5 separate regions of the Homo sapiens genome follow, and all the other regions are linked to region 4. The links are contacts of gene promoters, found by promoter capture Hi-C in human tissues and cell types (Jung and others, 2019). All regions are on one chromosome and are shown on one strand. The core of a region is centred on a gene start or on the middle of the fragment in contact, and the rest is flanking DNA. Distances in the headings are between cores, read along the strand shown. Region 1 overlaps HECW1 (HECT, C2 and WW domain containing E3 ubiquitin protein ligase 1). Region 2 has its middle 31 kb from the start of MRPL32. Region 3 overlaps HECW1 (HECT, C2 and WW domain containing E3 ubiquitin protein ligase 1). Region 4 holds the start of HECW1 (HECT, C2 and WW domain containing E3 ubiquitin protein ligase 1). Region 5 has its middle 48 kb from the start of MRPL32.

Region 1 (3,803 bases), core at 877-3,376, 190 kb after region 4:
TTCCCCCATTCTATCCTAAATCACTACAGATAGGCCTATTCTATACATATATTGCCAGTTCTTCCTTATTTCCTTCCTCTTCCAATAGGAATCTCTTGAGGTAAACCACCTCTGCCAGTCCTCCTATCACAGCCTGCTGCTGAGATGGTGCAGCCTGGTGTGGCTAAGGCGTGTGGCAGCCAGAATTGGAACTGAGTGACAGTTAGAGCTAGAAAGAGCACAAGAGTGGGCAGAGTGATGACAGGGAAGGAACCTGGGAAGGAACGTGCTACCTGTGGCCCCATCTGGAATATGAACTGGCTTTGTCTCCTTTCAAGGGTGGAAGAGGGATAGAAGAGGGTGGAAGAAGGGTGGAAGGAGCGAGAGATTCCTTTATATTGCCAATATAGGTATGAAATGTAGGAGAGAGAGATGACTTTATATTGCTAACGGCCATGCCTGCTTCACTCTTCATCATGGCTCTAAGTTGCTCTCATAAATGCTCTGAGACATCAACACTGAATTTATATCAGATATGGCCGTGTTCATCCGGGGCACTTTGATCACAAAAGGAAAGTGCTGCTGCTGCTGGTTCAACCCCACTGTGTACTGATGATGGGCATTATGGTTCATAATCCCAATGACTGGCACACTTATCAGAGCTGCAGTCCAACATGGGGCCTTCTTCTGGCTTGATGGGTGATCTGGAAAAGCAGGTACGATGACCTCCCACACTGATGTGAGAGCTGCACACTGTCCCTGCACCCGCCCAGGAGCCGCCCCTGCTACTTTGTCAGTAACTTCTGCCACGGTGCCACTTGTTTAGACTTGAGGGACCACTTGATTGGTAAAGCTTCTCCCTGCATGTAGACCTTGGCATTCAGGAGAGCTATACTTGGGCTCCCCAAGACACAGCAGCTCTGTCCACCTTGCTCTCCCCCTCATTGCTGCAGTGTGAAGTTTCTAAGGTGAACAAAACCTCCGTGGCCCCCCACTCTCCAATGGAGAAGGTCTTATTTCTTGGTGTGCCATGGGAGACCCCTTTCACACACTTCCAGCTGCCCCCAACACTGTCTGGCAGACAGCTAAGAGGAGCTCTGCTGAATCTGGAAGCTCAGCATGCTTCTAGTAAAGATACGCTTTTCCACGAGAAGTTCCTTCTGCTTAGATTGGATTTCCCTCAGCTCTTGCCCCTTCCTTCCAGGTCCAGCTTCCATGTCCTCCCATCTGGGAAGGTGGTCCCAGCATCTCTCTCCCTTCTAGGGGGGACCATGCCCACCACCCCATTATTGCCCTCACCATTGTGTCATAGTTGACTGCTTAAATGTCTGCCTCCTGCACCAAACTCTCCGAGGCTATGAGCACTGTTTAAGTCCTCTCTGTATCCATACTCAGCATTTAGCACAAGGCCTGGTACACACTAAAGACTCCATCCACATTTCCTGATTGACTGGGCTAAAGGAAGGAAGAAGAAGCCAGATGCAGTGGCTCACGCCTGTAATTCCAGCTCTTTGGGAGGTCAAGGTGGATCACTTGAGGTCAGGAGTTCAAGACCAGCCTGGCCAACATGGTGAAACCCCTTCTCTACTAAAAATACAAAACAATTAGCCAGGTACGGTGGCACGCACCTGTAATCCCAGCTACTCGGGAGGCTGAAGCAGGAGAATCTCTTGAACCCGGGAGGCAGAGGTTACAGTGAGCTGGGATCGCACCATTTCCTTCCAGCCTAGGCAACAAGAGTGGAAACTCTGTCAAAAAAAAAAAAAAAAGAAGCAGGAGAATAAAACCAAAGACAGGATTTACTTAAAAATAAACCCAAAGATGCTGGGTCAAACCACCCAGGGGATATAAGAATTTAAAAGAGAGCATCTTTACAGCACCTTGATCCTCCATGACAAATGATAACATGCTTTTGAGTATTAATTTCAATGAGGATACAAACTCAGCACTGCATCTGAAACCCTCCTAAGTGTATTTCTTAGAACTGTAATCCCTGTCTGGCCCCATCACCTAATAGCAGGCAAATGAGGACACGACCATGAATGGAGGAGGGAAACACACTGGCTTACAACAGCCTGAGGCTCCTCAGGCTTCTCAACAAGCCTGAGGCTCCCTCCCAAGCCAGGCAGCTCAGGCCATGGATGAGGCAGCTAACTGGCCGCAGGGAGTCTCAAGGTCCACTTGGGGCCCTGCTGCTCCCCTGCTGCGTGGTCAGGGCAGGCAGCTGCCCTTCTCAGGCTTCAGCTTCCCGGTGAATAAGAGGAGGGGCTGGCCCAGAACCCTCCCATGACTGTCACTGTGGGTTCCTGTGTGATTCACAGTATTGTGGGTTGGCTTTTGGAGACTGGACTGTAGCCAAGCAGGTGGTGGTGCCCTGGTTACGGGAAGAGGCACAGTGACCCCACTCAGCACAGCACAAGCCCTGCTGGGCTCAGGATGGAGTGAGGCTGAGGTCATCATGGGGGCTCCTCACAAATGCCCGGTACGGGGCCGCCCCGGGAGGATGATGTGGCTGGCTCACAGCAGCTCCACCTCCCTTTCTCTCCTGTATGGTCCGCAGGGCTCCTGGAGCTGGGCGCCTTGGGCCCCTGGAGCCGCACTGTGGTTCTGGGAGGTGAACACATATCCTTTTCCTCTGCAGGTATCAGTAGGTAAAGAGGAAACTTTTCCACTTTCAATCAGGCTAGTGCCTTCCTGAGGAAGAAACAGTATTTCCTAACATTGAGAAGGGAAAAATGGGTCTCTTTCTCACATCTGTAAGTTCCCATTCATTCTGTCTCTGTGTCTTACACACACACCACACACACCCACACACGTGCACACACACATGCGCGCACACACACACACAGGAATACCAGTTCTCACCTTTCCTTTCTGTGTAAACCAGAGGAGGTGCTAAATATTATGAACAGGAATTTGCCCCAGCTAACCTGACGAGGCCCTCCTGGCTGCCACCTTCCTCCCTCTCCCACACCCACAGCCCCCTGCCCATTCCTCTGCCCATACAAACCACCCAGATTTCAGCAACTTCGCTGCTGAACGCCTCCAAACATAAACCTCCCAAATAACCCAGAGCTGCACCAAGCAGTCCTAGACTTGAGCAAAGCAGTGAATGGTCCAATCATGCCCCTCCTGGAGCCTGGCCTCCAGCTGGTTTCTCTTACGTGTGAGTGAGAATGGTGTGCGAGCGACAAGGAGCAAAGACCACCCCACCCCCCGCCCCCCAACACCTGCCATCAAAGGGCTGCAGAGTCAAAAGTGGGAGGGGATGTTCAACCTTACACTTATTGGTGGATTTTTTTTTATGAGCGATAAGGCATTATGTGTTCCTAAAATAATGTGTCTGACTGGCATTTTAACAAGTTCCTTGTATTTTAAATCATGACTTCCTGTGTGGATATTATCTGGCTTGGCTTGATTTGCTTATTAAAATTTTCTCCCCCTAATGTTCCCTTTCAGCCAGCAATGAGTGGGATTTTATTTCTTTTTCAAAGAAAAGAAGCCCACACAATTTAGTTTATGTAATTCTGTGATATTCTTCCACACAATGGCCAGCACAAAAGAAAGCTTTTTTAGCACATGGCTTTGAGGCTGAAAGCACAAATTGAGGCACAGGTTTCAGGAACAGGTGTCTGGGAGCTGAAGAGTTAGACAGAGATGGTGGTTTAGCAGCCACCTCCCACTCTCCTCCCTTACACCTGAGAGCCCCTACACCCGCCCCTGTCCCACAACATCCCTCATACACAGCAGTTCCCAAGCAGAGGTACAAATGGGTAAGCAGGACTCAAATCTCAGGATGTGAGAGGGAGAGGAGGACCCAGGGG
Region 2 (3,554 bases), core at 23-2,522, 150 kb before region 4:
TATTGCTCCAACTTGTGAATGAGCTGGTGCCATCTCGGGCTTGACTGGGTTGTAAATTAGCTGCAGGCTTGAAGTAATCTCCTGGTGGGGGATAATTCCATAGGCACCTGGATTGTCTCAAGATTCAATCTCTGGAACTTCTAAGCAAGCATAATTAGATAAGCTAGCAATGCAAGGGAGTGCCTTGTGGAAAGAAGGAGAGTAAAGGATATTATTTTATTACTAAAAAGTTAATAGAAAAGGACTGAAGAAGGAAGAGGAAAAAAACCTTAAAAATAGGGTACTCAGTTATAAGAAAACTCAACTTCAGTATCATATAACACAAATTTAAGATGGGTTTATCTGGCTTATTCCCTCCCGTCAGCTCAGCTACGTTGTCTATGTTGGGACCAGAGAAATTACATTAAAGATAACTGGCCTAATTGCACCAGAAATATGGGATGGATACCCAAAGAACAGTGTTTCAACACCATTACATTACAAAATACTGATTGGCCTGCCACTGAATAGATACAACAACTGAGTATTTCTTGGTTAGCTTCAAATGGAAAGTTTTGGTCATGTGGCACTAATCTATGGACATGGCTACTCCCAGGATGGCTAGGACAATGTTCCTTGGGTTATGCTTGGGCACAAGGTCAAATAGTTCATTCCCTATCAAAACCTGCAAATTTTCCTCATTTATAATCCTGCTGGGCTTTTTCTGTGTTCCATTGGTATGATCATTTAGCTTCCATCTTCATCCCACAACTGGGTATTTGAGAATGTTATTTGGCATGTAGAGGCCCCGATCAATTATACACTACAGGCTCTAAATGATAGCCACATCAGTACTTTGTTATTAAACAATGAAGTTGCTATTACAAGAAAGGCTGTATGGCACAACAAGTTTTAGACACACCCACTGCAGCCCAAGGTACCATCATAAAAACTGAATGTTGTGTCTCTATACTAGATGAGTCTAATAACATCAATAAATGAATGGCTGATATGAAAACCTCAATAACCAACTTTTCAGATCCCAAATCTTCTCTAAGTGACTAGCTAAGTAGATGGTTTGGATCTTGGGTAACTTAACAGCAAAAGCTGTTACTTATTCTAGGAATTGTAATTGCATATTGTGTTTTGTTCTGGTTTTGTCTACACTGTTGTTACAGCATTTGTTTAAAATGGAGTCAACTTGTGACTGAAAAGACTAAAATAATGGTCCCCCAAATAGTTGCATAAATTGAAGATATAGCTATTTAGCCTAACACACAAAATCACTTTCTTTATGCTGACTTAAATTCAGCCTATACTACATCAGCTTACAGCTGGTTTAATCATCCTTTGCTAGGGGACATGACATCCTAGGAGTGTGCCTTCCTAGTGACATGGGATCAAAATTTCTCAACATAAAAGGAGTCCAACCATTAAATTCATCTATGATGGTTTCTTCAAAAAGTTCTTGAAGAACTTTCTTCCAAAAAGAAGAAAAATGTAAAAATAAGTAATCCAAATTGAAGGTATTGGAACTCTAAAATTATTTTGAACCTTAAAGGAATGTGATTATGGGCCTGCATCACATAACAGACAGCTGTAACCTTTGTTTCTCTGATTATAGATTAAGCCTCCTTCCTTACCTGTATTGTTTTGTGTTAATAAAATGACATGAATGACAGAAGGGCACCAAGGAAGACCCCTTCCTTCTCCTCTGTTGATCTTCATTGTAGATTAACCTCCCTCTCACCTTTCTCACACAAAGACTTCATGACTACCACATTGTCTTAAGATGGAATGTTAAACATACTCTTTTAAATTGGAAAGGAAATGAAAATCAGCTATGAATAAAACAAGCCATACAGAAAAGAAAACAAACTCTAACTAATTAATTTGTTATAACTCTTAAACCAGTATATAGGAAATATAATCCTGTTAAATTTCTTTGTCTTCTTCCTATATAAGCAAAAACTTAACTTTTAACTTCAGAGCACTGATCCTATTTCTCTGAAATCTGTGTGTCCCAGAATGGCCATTCCCAGCTTTCTTCTTGATTAAACTCTTTAAAACTAGATTTTGACCCTTCTTATTATCTCATATTGACACAATCCCTCTTTATGACAGAACAACACAGAAAGACAAAGACAAAAGACAAGACTATTTCTGGGAGGAAAAAGACAATATGAATTTTCATACCAAAAAGTACACCAGAGTTGCTACACCTAAGACTAGGCTCACAAATCCTTTTCCTCCATTAATCAAGACTTTCAACTAGGTACGGTGGCTCACTCCTATAATCCCAGCATTTTGGGAAGCTCAGGTGGGTGTATCACCTGAGGTCAGGAGTTTGAGACCAGCCTGGCCAACATGGCAAAATCGCATCTCTACTAAAACCACAAAAATTAGCACCACCACTAGGTAGTGGTGGTGCATGGCTGTAATCCCAGCTACTCGGGAGGCTGAGGCACAAGAATTGCTTAAACCTGGGAGGCAGAGGTTGCAGTGAGCCAAGATCGTACCACTGCACTCCAGCCTTGGCAAGAGAGTGAGACTCTGTCTCAAAAAAAAAAAAAAAAAAAAAAAAGACTTTGGAGAGGGAAAGGGACAGTGACTTTTACTGTCTACTGGACCAGATTGCACAAAGAGAGGCTTGGAGCCTGGCTGGTAAGAATTTCTTATCCTACGGGTTTGTTGAGTCCTGGGCTCCCTTGACTGTGGCTTCCAGAAGAGCAGAGCAGTTTTGCTATCCTGCTCACAGTGCAAAACTGTAGGGGCCAAGGGAAACTTCCCCTGCATTCTGTAAAAGTTCACTGAAAATCAACTGACAGAAGGCAGATTAATAGGAGAAAAAGCATACAAATTTATTAACATGTGGGTGAGGGAATCAAACAGTGATTACCCCAATCTCCTAATGGGGTACAGAAGCTTCTATACCCTTTTTCATAGAGGAGGAAGGATATAGGGAATGTAGCCAGTTCTTTAAAGGGTGGTAAACGATTATTAGGGAAAATGAATGGACCAGGGATACAGAAATTAACTTGTAAATGATGATTATCTTTAGAATGTGAGGTGGAGAGGCAGGCATTATCTTGTGGAAAAGTTTATCCAGGTGTGGTTACATTCTTCAACCTTCTTTTCTGCTGTAGATAATGAGGTAACAGGGAGGGAACAGGCAATTGTATTTCTTTTGGCAAGAAGCTTTCTTGGTTAGATAAGGAAATTTCAGAGACAGTCCCTCTCTCTGCTGTCGAAAGGAAGGAGAAGAGGGTTAGAGGGACCTTGATTCTGAGGCTTATTTCTGAGTCCTTTCAATTTTCTTTCTTTTTCCTTTTTATTAAGATACAGGTCTCACTATGTTGCCCAGGCTGGTCTCAAACTCCTGGGCTCTAGCAATCCTCCCGCCTCGGCCTCCCAAAGTGCCAGGACTATAGGCATGAACCACTGCACTGGGCCTCAATTTTCAAAAGCATGCAGTATGCCCAAGTGCCATATTTGGGAGAATCATTTTCTATATCCCAAACGCTTTCTATTTCTGCGTGCCTGTTTATGTATCTGTCAGGATACTGTGTTAAGCT
Region 3 (3,464 bases), core at 387-2,886, 220 kb after region 4:
ATCCCATATTTTAAAAACACACAGGGGCTCCTGATGATACATAACAGAAAATCTAAGCAGCCAACCTTACTGACAGTTTGTAATGACTCCCCCCTTGACCATGGTGAGGTGAACCTCACACAGGTAGGGGCTGTCGGGATCTGCCTCCTCACTCTGGGCTTCAGCCAGTGGCTTCTAAGCCAGAGGCAGCATGATGGCCACGGTGACTTGGGGCTCAACCCCACGCCCAGGGAGGCCCTCTGGACTCTGAGATTCTGTTTCTTCATCTATAAAATGAAAGTGATATATGTCCTCCACAAGGCGGCCCCATGAAGATGACCTGAAAAAACTCAGGAGAAGTGCCCAGCCATGTGTCAGGGACAGTAAGAGCTCAGTCAACACCAGACCCCCTGCCATAATTAGAGGGCTGTGAATTAGGAATTACAGGTGTCACTCTGAGAGGAAACAGGGCAGGATCGTACATCCACCTTTTATTTCTGCTCTGGAAATGAACATATTGGTGTCTTGGTGACAATTGAGACATGAATGGCTTTATGCTGAGAGTTTTCTGTGGGGAAACCCTCTGCTCTGCAGCCAAAGCTGGAGACCAAAGGGCACTGGAGGAAAAGCAGGGCTCCAGGGGAGCCGGTGGCCTTCTCTCCCTTGACATTCAGAGCAATGTTTCCCTGCGGCGAAGCAGCCAGAGCCAGAACAAGCTCGCTGGGACCAGAGGCACCAGCACCAAGACTAGACACAGGGGCTTCATCAGGCCACAGTCCAGATGGTTAAGGTGACATGTTGTTAGAGCCTTTTATTTCAACTTGGGCATGTTTTCACCAGGACTGCTCTGCCTTTAGAGCCAGTGTGGCTAAGGACTGCACCGCGGGCTGCCATTTTCAATCACTGTTGTGTTATTTCCAAGGAGATGTCTCAATCTGTGCTACAATAAATACTTGGGCCATAGGCGCTAAGCCCTTAAGAAGGTTAAGTCTACATGAGGAGACTGAACCCCACCTGTGCAACGTAAAGGTGTGATCATTGCACTGCTTCACAGGTTTTCTGTTAGGAAAAAGTATGACTCCATATACATATCTGCAAGATAATAGGCGTATTTATATTATTGTGCCATCTGATTTTTTTATAGAGCTCCGTGGAAACCAAGACTCCCCCCACCGCTGCCCACCCACTTTAGCACTACGCTAAATTGAAATCATGGTTAAAATTGCACTGTGTAACGGTCGTGAAGTAATTCGTGTTGCTTATATTCTTACTTGTGTTTCTTAAATTTTAGGAAAATAATATAGAGTTCACAGTGATACTCCTGAAATTCTTTTTATCCTTTCACCACACAATTAATTCCCCTCCCTGCTGTCCCTACCACCTAAACTTCTCCATAAACCTACCTCTGGTTATACCTCGTACTCATGTTGGTCTTCCCTTCGTTATTTCCTTCCAGTTTTGCTTTAAAATCCCAAAAGAATTAATCTTGCTAGAGAGGCATCCCCTGGGTAGAGGAAGGAGCCCAAGCTACCAAGTCCATAGGCACTCTCTAGCAGCCCCAAGTGAAAGGGTTGGAAATATTCATACAGTGATAATTTTGTCCCTTTGAGGTTATCATGCATCATGTGATATCATATATTAGATATTATGCATCCTGTGTGCTAATGGGATGTAGAAAGAACATAATAGTGATTAAAGAGCAAGATTAAAGGCACGGCAGGGTGGAGCTGAGAAGTACAGGAAAGATAAGTGCTTAGACTTTATGTAGTCTATGAACCATTTATATTATTATTATTATTATTATTATTATTATCATTATTATTTTAGTTTTAGGATGACATGATAAAACGGATTTGGGGCCAGGCATAGTGGCTCACACCTATAATCGTAGCATTTTGGGAGGAAGTGGCGGAAGGATCACTAGAGCCCAGGAGCTCAAGACCAGCCTGGGCAACAAAGTGAGACCTCCATCTCTACAAAAAATAAAAATTTAAAAATGTTAGCTCTGTTTGGTGGCATGCACCAGTAGACCCAGCTACTTGGGAAGCTGAGATGGGAGAATCACTTGAGCTGGGGAGGTCTGCAGTCTAGCCTGAGCTATGGAGCAAGACCTTGTCTCAAATTAAAAACAAAAAACAAAAAACAAAAAAAACAAGGGTTTGTGACTATTCGTGCAAGGCAACTTCAGGGAAACATATCCACCTTCAGCAATCCCAGTCAAGGCCTGCAACATGGGACACAGAAGAAGCAGTGAACTAGAGGGGCTGCGGTTGCTGCTGGTCCCTGTCTGAACTGCATGGGGCTGCCAGAGGCCAATCTGACTGAACACGGCCAATGAGACAATGGCGTGTGGCAGTGGAGGGCCCAGCCCACGTGGGAAGACAAGACGCAGGCGTGCAGTCACTTCTCAGCACATCAAGGATTCCATTGCATCTGGGGGACATCAAAATTGACCTGCAGTGCATGGAGGTCTCAGTCCCTCAGATTAAATAACAAAGCATGACTGAGCGTTATTACAGAAAACAGCCAGAAAGATATAACCGGAACATTCCATTCAGATTCGCAGCAATACAAAACGATGGTGCCGGCTTCCAGTCAGATACATGTCAGATCTTCCCAATGAGAAGAAAACACTCAATCGACATAAATAAAGGGTCAAGGCCCTATTAACCCAAAGTCACACTTTTCTGGATTAACCTTAAGTTGCCAAGTCGGTGTGAGAACATAACAGATACAGCTGTCTCTCTTAGCCCTATTGTGCTGGAGGCCTGCTGGGGATCGTGCTGGTCTCCAGGGGCTCAGATCTAGACATGCAGGCTCCGTCCCTGCATGCCAAGGTTCTGGCATTACACTGGGGAGACAAGCATGTACTTCTTTTTGTGCTTTGTGTGAAATAGTAAGAGGAGGAGCCCTAGCCTGACCTTGGGGCAAAGACCTAATCACCTCCAAGTTACAGGAACTCGGCCAGTTGGGAAGGAAGGTCTGGGCTCAGGGCCAAGTGGCATACAGGGGTGGGAAGGGGTGAGGCTGGGGTAGGTGAGACAGAATTGGAAAAGAAACATTCCAGGGAAGGAGCCCAGGGTCAGAGGTTCTAGGCAGTTTAGACATATGCCTGCAGAGCACACAGAGCTATGCAAATGCTTTAAGTAGAAAAAGCATTCCGATTAGGCTTGCATTCTAGAAACTGCATTCTGGCAGAAGTGTGGCGAGAAGACTGTAAGGTGCTGATATTAGAGGCTTGAGACCACCAAGAAACTATGGCATAAAAACAGGTGAGAAACAAAGAACACCTGGAATGAGAAAAATGGAAGGGGCTGATTCAGAAAGAGGCTTAGGAGGTAAGATCAACATGGCTTGGTGAGGAACTGGATGTGTGCCTGGGGAGAGGAAAGGGGCAGAAGGAGAATCAGCTGCCTCTACGGCACATCATCCAAGACTGAGGGGTCAGAAAGGGGGCGAGTTTGGGGATTGAAGACACCAAGTTC
Region 4 (3,529 bases), core at 193-2,692:
TGGTTTATGTGAAAGTTTTTGTTTTCTTTCAAGTCTCTGGTTGGAAACATCACATGGTTGGTTGCTGTTGCTGTTTACTGCCACAGCCTGTTCAAGTCTATTCTCGGAGAGTTTTCTTCATATAGGAGTTGGTACTAATCCAAGTGTAAAATCCGGAGAAATGTGTGCACAGCTTTCTGTGTGGATTCTTAGCTAAGGTTTGAAAATGGTCTGCTTTGAGCTCATCTGACCAGAAGATCTGACTGCTGTCAGGCAAAGAAAAGGGTCTGTCAGGAAAGGACTGGGCACCCCAAGTGGAATACGGAAAGAGAAGGGCTGTGCCTCCTTGCAGAAAAGAGCACAGCTGGTGAAGCTGCCTTCACATCGTCCAAAGTTTCCAGTTCTGGAAAGTTCCAGTTGTAAGAGTGAAATCAATGCCAAGAGGCAGGTCAGTGGAATGAGAGGCACTGAGAAACTAGCCACTGTGGGTGGAAGGGGAAGGAGATTTGGTTTTGACAAGTCCGTACTCAGGTCTTCAGTAAGGAGTTCTGAAGTCAGGGTGAAGCCTTTGTTTATTCTAGAGGAGGCGGAGTTTGGGGTCTGGGAAAGAAGATAACTTCTCAGAAAGTGAAAAAAAGCTCATGTAGAGGATGCTGGGCAAAATAATGGGAAGGAATAAATCAGCATTGTAGAGAATGTGGTTGGATCATAAAATCCCAGGCTATAGAGATTATGTGCTCAAAGCCTCTGCATTTTATGTGAACACACACAAACCAAATGTCGACCAGATGCACAAAAATGTGCATACATGGAGCAGCCAACCACCAATAGTAACCAGCATTTCACTTCTCTTTGCATCTCAGTTGGCTGTACCTGGAAGGGTCTAGACTTTGCCTCCTTCTCGTTCTAGCATTCTGACACTGTGTGCAGTGTAATAGAAAACGCGGTTTGGGAGCTAGGTTTGCCCAACAATAGATATTCTGGGGTGATTTTCATCCTTTGCATTTGTCATTACGATGTTTTGTGTGCTTGTGCAAATACAGGACGGTTCCTGAAATGTGTCTCTGAGCGTTCTTAACTGTGTGTAAGGTAAGCGAGGAAAGTGTCTAAGACAGAGGCCAAGAACACCTGTCACAGGGTACCCGCCTAGAGTGTCTGTACCGCATCCTTTCTGCTACACTGTTTGCACACACACAAAAGGGCCGAGGAGCCAGGGTTGGTGTTGGATATGCCCAGTACGCGTGCTGGGTGTTGGAAGGATGGGGCCGGCGGTAACAAGAATCGATATATATTTACCGCGGGGGCGGGGGTGGGGGTGCGCGGAGGCTGCAGGGCGGGGCAGCGCTAATGAGAGCAAGCCCGGCTTGTGGTTGGTTCTGGAGTCTGGTACCCACAGAGGAGCAGGCAGGGAGGGAGGGGATGCAAGCGGGAGGATAAAGCGATGAAGTGTGCTGCGTTACCGCGCATCAGGCGCTGTTGTTGGAGCCGGAACACCGTGCGACTCTGACCGAACCGGCCCCCTCCTCGCGCACACACTCGCCGAGCCGCGCGCGCCCCTCCGCCGTGACAGTGGCCGTGGCCTCCGCTCTCTCGGGGCACCCGGCAGCCAGAGCGCAGCGAGAGCGGGCGGTCGCCAGGGTCCCCTCCCCAGCCAGTCCCAGGCGCCCGGTGCACTATGCGGGGCACGTGCGCCCCCCAGCTCTAATCTGCGCGCTGACAGGAGCATGATCTGTGCCCAGGCCAGGGCTGCCAAGGTAAGCGGGCGTAGCGCGGGGACACTGTCTGCCGCCCCTTCCCCCCCGCCCTTCTCTGGGCGGCTTCCCCGCCGCACGCGAGGCCCCGGCAGCGCCCTCCCTTCTCGGGGCCGAGATCCACCCTCCTCCCCACCCTCTCGCTTCTCCCGCGAGGTTCAATTGTCAGCCTGGGTCGCGCCGCCGCCCGGTCCGGGCCGGCATCCCCGGGTGGCGACCCCGGCTTGGGTACTGCAGGCGCACCCGGCCCTCCTGCGGGGTACGGAGAGAAACAAAGAAGCCCCCAAGCGGGTTCGCAGCGCCTCCCCCGCCCCTCAGCGCCCTCCCAGTGGCGAGGAGGTGTCAGGGGAGGGGGCGGAGAGACCTACGTAATCCCCCTTCCCAGCCCACACCCACCCCTTGTGAACCAAAGCTCTGGATTTGCGCTTCGCCTTGGGCTCGCTTTTGAACAATTGTGTCCCATGCAATGCCCGTGGTTAGCCCAGAGAGCGCCCAGAGCCTCCGCACGGGCTCGCCGGTGCTCGCTCGAGGGGCGCGTGGCCAGGTCCGGCCCTTGCTCCCATGGACGGGTGCAGGAGGGGAGGAGGCGCTGTGTGGGTGCTCCCCCAGCGCCTCCCTGTTACCGGCCGGCTGCGCCGCTCAGCCGGGCCTGCCACCTGAGTTTTAGCGGGAGCAGTCATGTCGCCTACCGTATTGCGACTTGCAGACAGGCAGGGAGGGAGCTGCCGGGGCGGGGAGGGGGGGGGAATGCGTCCGGTCCATTTTTGGCTGGAGGTGCGCTTCCTGCTACCCCCACGTTCCCGGGCGGTGACAATGCAGCAAAATCCGAGGGCTCAAACAATGTGGCCCCTCCATCCCCGGCTCCAGGGCATTCTGATTGCTCTGCCGCTTTGACGTCCCGGCCACTTGGCTGATTTTCAGAGCCATGATGCGCGGTGTCTCTGTCTTGCACACAGAGGCTGGGCACCATAACTTCTTCCCTGCCGAATTTCAGCGCGTAGGGGGAGCTGGCAGGGACACAGGCTGCAGAGATGCCCGGCTTCCTGTGGTTCCGGGCACAGCGCGCCTCAGTCTGCATTGGGCTGACACCAGAGAGCATGTGGGGATTTTCCTAGTTGCCGAAGAAGATATTATTTGACGTTGCTGTAGTTTTGTGCTTACTTCTCTTGGAATCTGCAGTGGTGCAATTCTCCCCTTGTTTTCCCCCCTTCTCTTTGAAAAGATATCAATGCTATGTTCAGCAGAAACGGATACAGCAAGAGCAGCATAGTTCAAAAATTGAGGGAGGCATCTTCTCTCTTTTCCTGGGATTTAAACGCGATTTAGGAGGGCAGATGCCCTACCCGAAAAGGCCAACCGTTAAAGACCCCGGCAGTGTTGTGGTCCAAGGCGTCTCAAAGCAGGTGGCCAGATCTGCGTTTCTCATCAGCAGACTCACTCCGGCTGTGGCTATTACGGTAATTCATTCTAGATTGGGGATTCATTTAAAAATGTGTGTTTTCCACTAAGAAGGGATTAGAGTCCACATGCCCACCCTGGTATGAATGTGTGTGCCTGTTTGGTAGAGAGATAGATTGTGGTAGAATTCCCTGTTGGTAGAATTCCCTGTTGCCTGTTCCCTCCGCTTGCTGCTTCCTCTGGAATGTGGCATTGGAAAAACAAAGCACTATTTTAATTCCTAGACCTCCAGGCAAATTGGCCGTTCTAGTGTTTTATTTAATAATCCACGTTCTGACTAATTCCACACTATAATCCCAGTCTAGTGCAGTTGGCTGCTTTGTGGAATGACAGTTCTCTTT
Region 5 (3,964 bases), core at 551-3,050, 130 kb before region 4:
CATGATGAAATTTTCCAGATTGCTTCAAAAATGTATTTTACTGTTTTTTTTCTCTCCAATCAAACCTTGTTTGGATTCTGTCTTTAAATGATTTTAAAGTTTCTAACATAACTGAAATACCCATATTTTTCAGTGCATATTAATTCTGCTATCACTAGAATTTCTTCCTTGAAAAAGAACTATTTTATAAAATAAACAATATGTATTTATCACTGAGAAATTAGAAAAAAACAAACAATCCCATCAAAAAGTGGGCTAAGGACATGAATAGACAATTATCAAAAGAAGCTATACAAATGGCCAACAAACATAAAAAAATGCTCAACAGCACTAATGATCAGGGAAATGCAAATCAAAACCACAATGTGATACCACCTTACTCCTGCAAGAATGGCCATAATCAAAAAAATAAAAAAAACAGTAGATATTGGCATGGATGTGGTAAACAGGGAACACTTCTACACTGCCGGTGGGAATGTAAACTAGTACAGCCACTATGGACAACAGTATGGAGATTCCTTAAAGAACTAAAAGCAGAACTACCATTTGATCCAGCAATCCCATTACTGGGTATCTACCCAGAGGAAAAGAAGTCATTATTCGGAAAAGATACTTGCACATGCATGTTTATAGAAGCAAAATTCCCAGTTGCAAAATAATGGAACCAACCCAAATGCCAATCAATCAACGAATGGATAAAGAAACTGTGGTATTATGTTATCTACTCAGCCATAAAAAGGAATGAATTAACAGCATTTGCAGTGACCTGGATGAGATTGGAGACTATTATTCTAAGTGAACTCAAAAATGGAAAACCAAACATCCCATGTTCTCACTGATATATGGGAGCTAAGCTATAAAGTAAAGCTAAGCTATAAAGTATAGAATGCACATTGTACATCTAATTTAATTATTATGCAAAGGCATAAGAATGATCCAATGGACTTTGGGGATTTGGGGGGAAGAGTGAGAGGGGGGCGAGGGATAAAAGGCTACAAATATGGTGTAGTGTATACTGTTTGGGTAATGGGTACACCAAAATCTCACAAATCACCACTAAAGAACTTATTTGGTTACTCATGTAAACAAATGCCACCTGTACTCCAAAAACTTATGGAAAAAAAAGTTGTTTGTATAAGAAAACTAAACATTAAAAGAAACTGAGGTACAGAAAAGTTGTCATTTCTTTCAGATTACAGAGCTAGTGTGGGTGGGCTTCAAGACAAGGAAGACAGGCTCCAGAGACCACACTCAGCCACAAGTCTATGCTGCAATCAAGACTAATCTATGAGAAGGATGAAAATTTATTAATTGGTGATTGTTGGGGAGTAGGAACCCCAAGTTAATATGCCCAAAAGAGACCTCTTGGTTTCTTCCTGCCTGTCTCTAATTTCTCTTTCTTCAGGCTTCCCTCTCTCAGCAAACACCAACTTCATTCATCCAGATATGCATCTCCAATTCTTGGAGTTACCCTTGTTCCTACTCCTCTCATCGCTATCTAGTTAGTCAGCAAAGCCTACCGGCTTTGCCTTCACAATACAAACCTAACCTTGTCTCTCTACCCTCCACCACTGCCATCCTGGTCTAAGACACCATTATCTTTTCCCAGATTATTGTAATAACTCATATCTGGTTTCCTGGTTTCTACTGTTACCCTCAATTGTCTATTCTCACTACAGCTGGAGTGACTCTTTTAAAGCAAAAGTCAGATTATGTTCCCTCTGCTCAAAGTCCTCTGATGGCATCCCAACTCTCTCAGAATGAAATCAAGTTGTCATTGGCTCACATGGCCTTACATAAATCTATCCATCTGCTACCTACTCTCCAGCCACTTTCCCGGTCACTCCCTGTGCACCAGATTTCATGTCCTTTCAGTTTCTCGTATATGCTGGCTCTGCTGCATCCTCATGTTGCTTGACACATGTTGCTCCCTGTGCTTGGAAGGCTCTCACAGGTGGCTGCAGAGTTTGCTTCTCTACTTCATGCAAGTCTCTGCTCCAGGTCACCTTCTTAAAGAGGATCTTCCTGACTACTGTGGCCTCCTTTCCCTTTCCTGTCCTCACTAGCCCTTTCCCCAGCCTAGTGCTCATGCCCCTGCATATATTACAAATACACGGTTTATTGGTCTGTTATCCTTCCCAGCCCTTTCTTGTTAGCCACACAAGAGAAAGGATTTTGTCTGTTATTTTAGTGTTCTTCCCTGTGCCTTGACTGGTGTCCAGCACTTAGAAGGCATGCAATGAAAATTGTTTGAATGACTGAATGAATGAATGCAGGAATGTCATCATTCTGTACTGTGAACCATAATGAACATGAAACAAAGTAAGAGAATGAAGACACACAATAGGTCAGCCTACTAGCGGTCCTTTTAATTGCCTGATTGATGTTGGAAAATGAAGCTTTCTGGATGATAAATGAAAGCTACCAAATGCCATTCATCACAATTCTTGTCATAATCGACTCAATAAAGTATAGAATGCACATTGTATATCTAATTTAATGTGTGCAAACCAGACATGTAATGACACAAATGTACAGTTTGTGGGTTGTAGTTAGTGCAGAAAAATGTAGTATTAGCCAAAGATAAGAGAGTTGCTGATGCATTCTCTATACTGGCAGATCAATACAGTATTATAAAGAACGAAGAAATGAAATCAAAGGATTTTTTTCTGACAAAAGAGAGAAAAGAATGAAATGGAAAGGGCACAATTGGCACCATTTAAATCTATGCCTTCATGTTTTACCTTCTAATTGGGACCTGAGGTTATAAATCAAGATAATAAAAGCTGATAAATACATTGCCTATCTTTCCCCACAGGGGAGGTGAAGGAAGATGAAAGAAAGCATCAAAAGAAAACCACTCTGGCAGGGACTTCTCATTCCTTTTCATTTTATTTTCTGGCAAAGACTACAGTGCATCTATTACTTGTCTGAGAGGTTACAAAAGAGGAAGAAGCCTGGGGTTGTATAATAATGTTGGAAGCCTAGGAGAGGCCACAAAGAGTATCTTGTAGAGTGGGCGGGGTTCAGAAGGTTCTAAGCCATGCTGTGAATCTGGCACACAGGCCTTTGTGCTCAAAACACAACATCTGGGGTGCATTCCCAGCTCTTACAAGGAGCAATGAATGCTGCTAATGACATTGCATTTGGGGATTTTAATGGGGGGATAGAAATTTAACCAAAGTTGGAGGGAATTAGTCTGCAGTTTAGCAGGCTTCTTGCTAAATGTCTACCTCCAGAGGTTCTACTGCTAAAAGAGAAAGCATTCTAGACACTTAGCCTTTCTCACTTCTTTTGTTAAAATGATATAAATGCCAAAAACAAAAACAAAAACAAACAAATAAAAAAAAACAAGAGAAGATGTTCTATAATATGTAACAACAGGCCTTAACCCCAGAGATCTCCAAAGTATAACTCATATAGTCACTTTTTTTTTTTTTTGAGATGGAGTCTCTCACTCTGTCACCCAGGCTGGAGTACAGTGGCACAATGGCACTATCTTGGCTCACTGCAGCCTCTGCCTCCTGGGTTTAAGCAATTCTCCTGTCTCAGCCTCCATAGTAGCTGAGATTACAGGCATGCATTACCACTCCTGGCTAATTTTTGTATTTTTTAGTAGAGACAGGGTTTCACCATATTGGCCAGGCTGTTCTCAAACTCCTGATCTCAAGCAATCTGCCCATCTTGGCCTCCAAAGAGCTGGGATTACAGGTGCGAACCACTGCGCCCAGCCCTTCACATAGTCACTTTTATCTGTAATAAGAAATAGGAAGAAAATGGATGCACAAATGATCTCTCAGATCCCTTCAAAACAGAAAACTTTAAGTTTCTATGAAATCAGGATGTTGCTTTATGAAACTAACAAGCAAATAGCTTCAAAGTACAACATTTCTCCAGAGCTTCCCCCAAAGAATAAAGTCCACAGCAGAGCGCCCCCTGCTTCCATTGAGGTTTTCCTGGGTAA

The links. Contacts are between HindIII fragments. The study calls those that stand out against the background at their distance.
Region 1: a fragment that was not itself captured here is called in contact with the fragment with the promoter of HECW1 in region 4 in 2 of the 25 tissues and cell types used here (H1 embryonic stem cells and dorsolateral prefrontal cortex).
Region 2: a contact is called between a fragment that was not itself captured here and the fragment with the promoter of HECW1 in region 4, in 1 of the 25 tissues and cell types used here (mesenchymal stem cells).
Region 3: a contact is called between a fragment that was not itself captured here and the fragment with the promoter of HECW1 in region 4, in 3 of the 25 tissues and cell types used here (IMR-90 fibroblasts, aorta and dorsolateral prefrontal cortex).
Region 5: a contact is called between a fragment that was not itself captured here and the fragment with the promoter of HECW1 in region 4, in 1 of the 25 tissues and cell types used here (mesendoderm cells).

Annotation. Positions count from the first base shown.
Region 1 is chr7:43,300,143-43,303,945 of GRCh38, forward strand. All of the region lies in intron 3 of HECW1 (HECT, C2 and WW domain containing E3 ubiquitin protein ligase 1), which reads left to right. LOC102724903 (a long non-coding RNA gene) reads right to left here and starts at 169. Exons shown (of 3, transcript XR_428133.5): 1 at 1-169. The HindIII fragment of the contact is 4,198 bases long and covers 28-3,803 here.
Region 2 is chr7:42,961,346-42,964,899 of GRCh38, forward strand. No RefSeq gene overlaps it. Among named protein-coding and RNA genes, the nearest start is that of MRPL32, 31 kb to the left of the region's middle. The HindIII fragment of the contact is 3,536 bases long and covers 1-3,040 here.
Region 3 is chr7:43,326,200-43,329,663 of GRCh38, forward strand. All of the region lies in intron 5 of HECW1 (HECT, C2 and WW domain containing E3 ubiquitin protein ligase 1), which reads left to right. Among named protein-coding and RNA genes, the nearest start is that of MIR3943, 180 kb to the left of the region's middle. The HindIII fragment of the contact is 6,763 bases long and covers 1-3,464 here.
Region 4 is chr7:43,111,205-43,114,733 of GRCh38, forward strand. It overlaps HECW1 (HECT, C2 and WW domain containing E3 ubiquitin protein ligase 1), which reads left to right and starts at 1,443. Exons shown (of 30, transcript NM_015052.5): 1 at 1,443-1,733; 2 at 2,953-3,187. The HindIII fragment of the contact is 15,211 bases long and covers 1-3,529 here.
Region 5 is chr7:42,978,787-42,982,750 of GRCh38, forward strand. No RefSeq gene overlaps it. Among named protein-coding and RNA genes, the nearest start is that of MRPL32, 48 kb to the left of the region's middle. The HindIII fragment of the contact is 3,571 bases long and covers 16-3,586 here.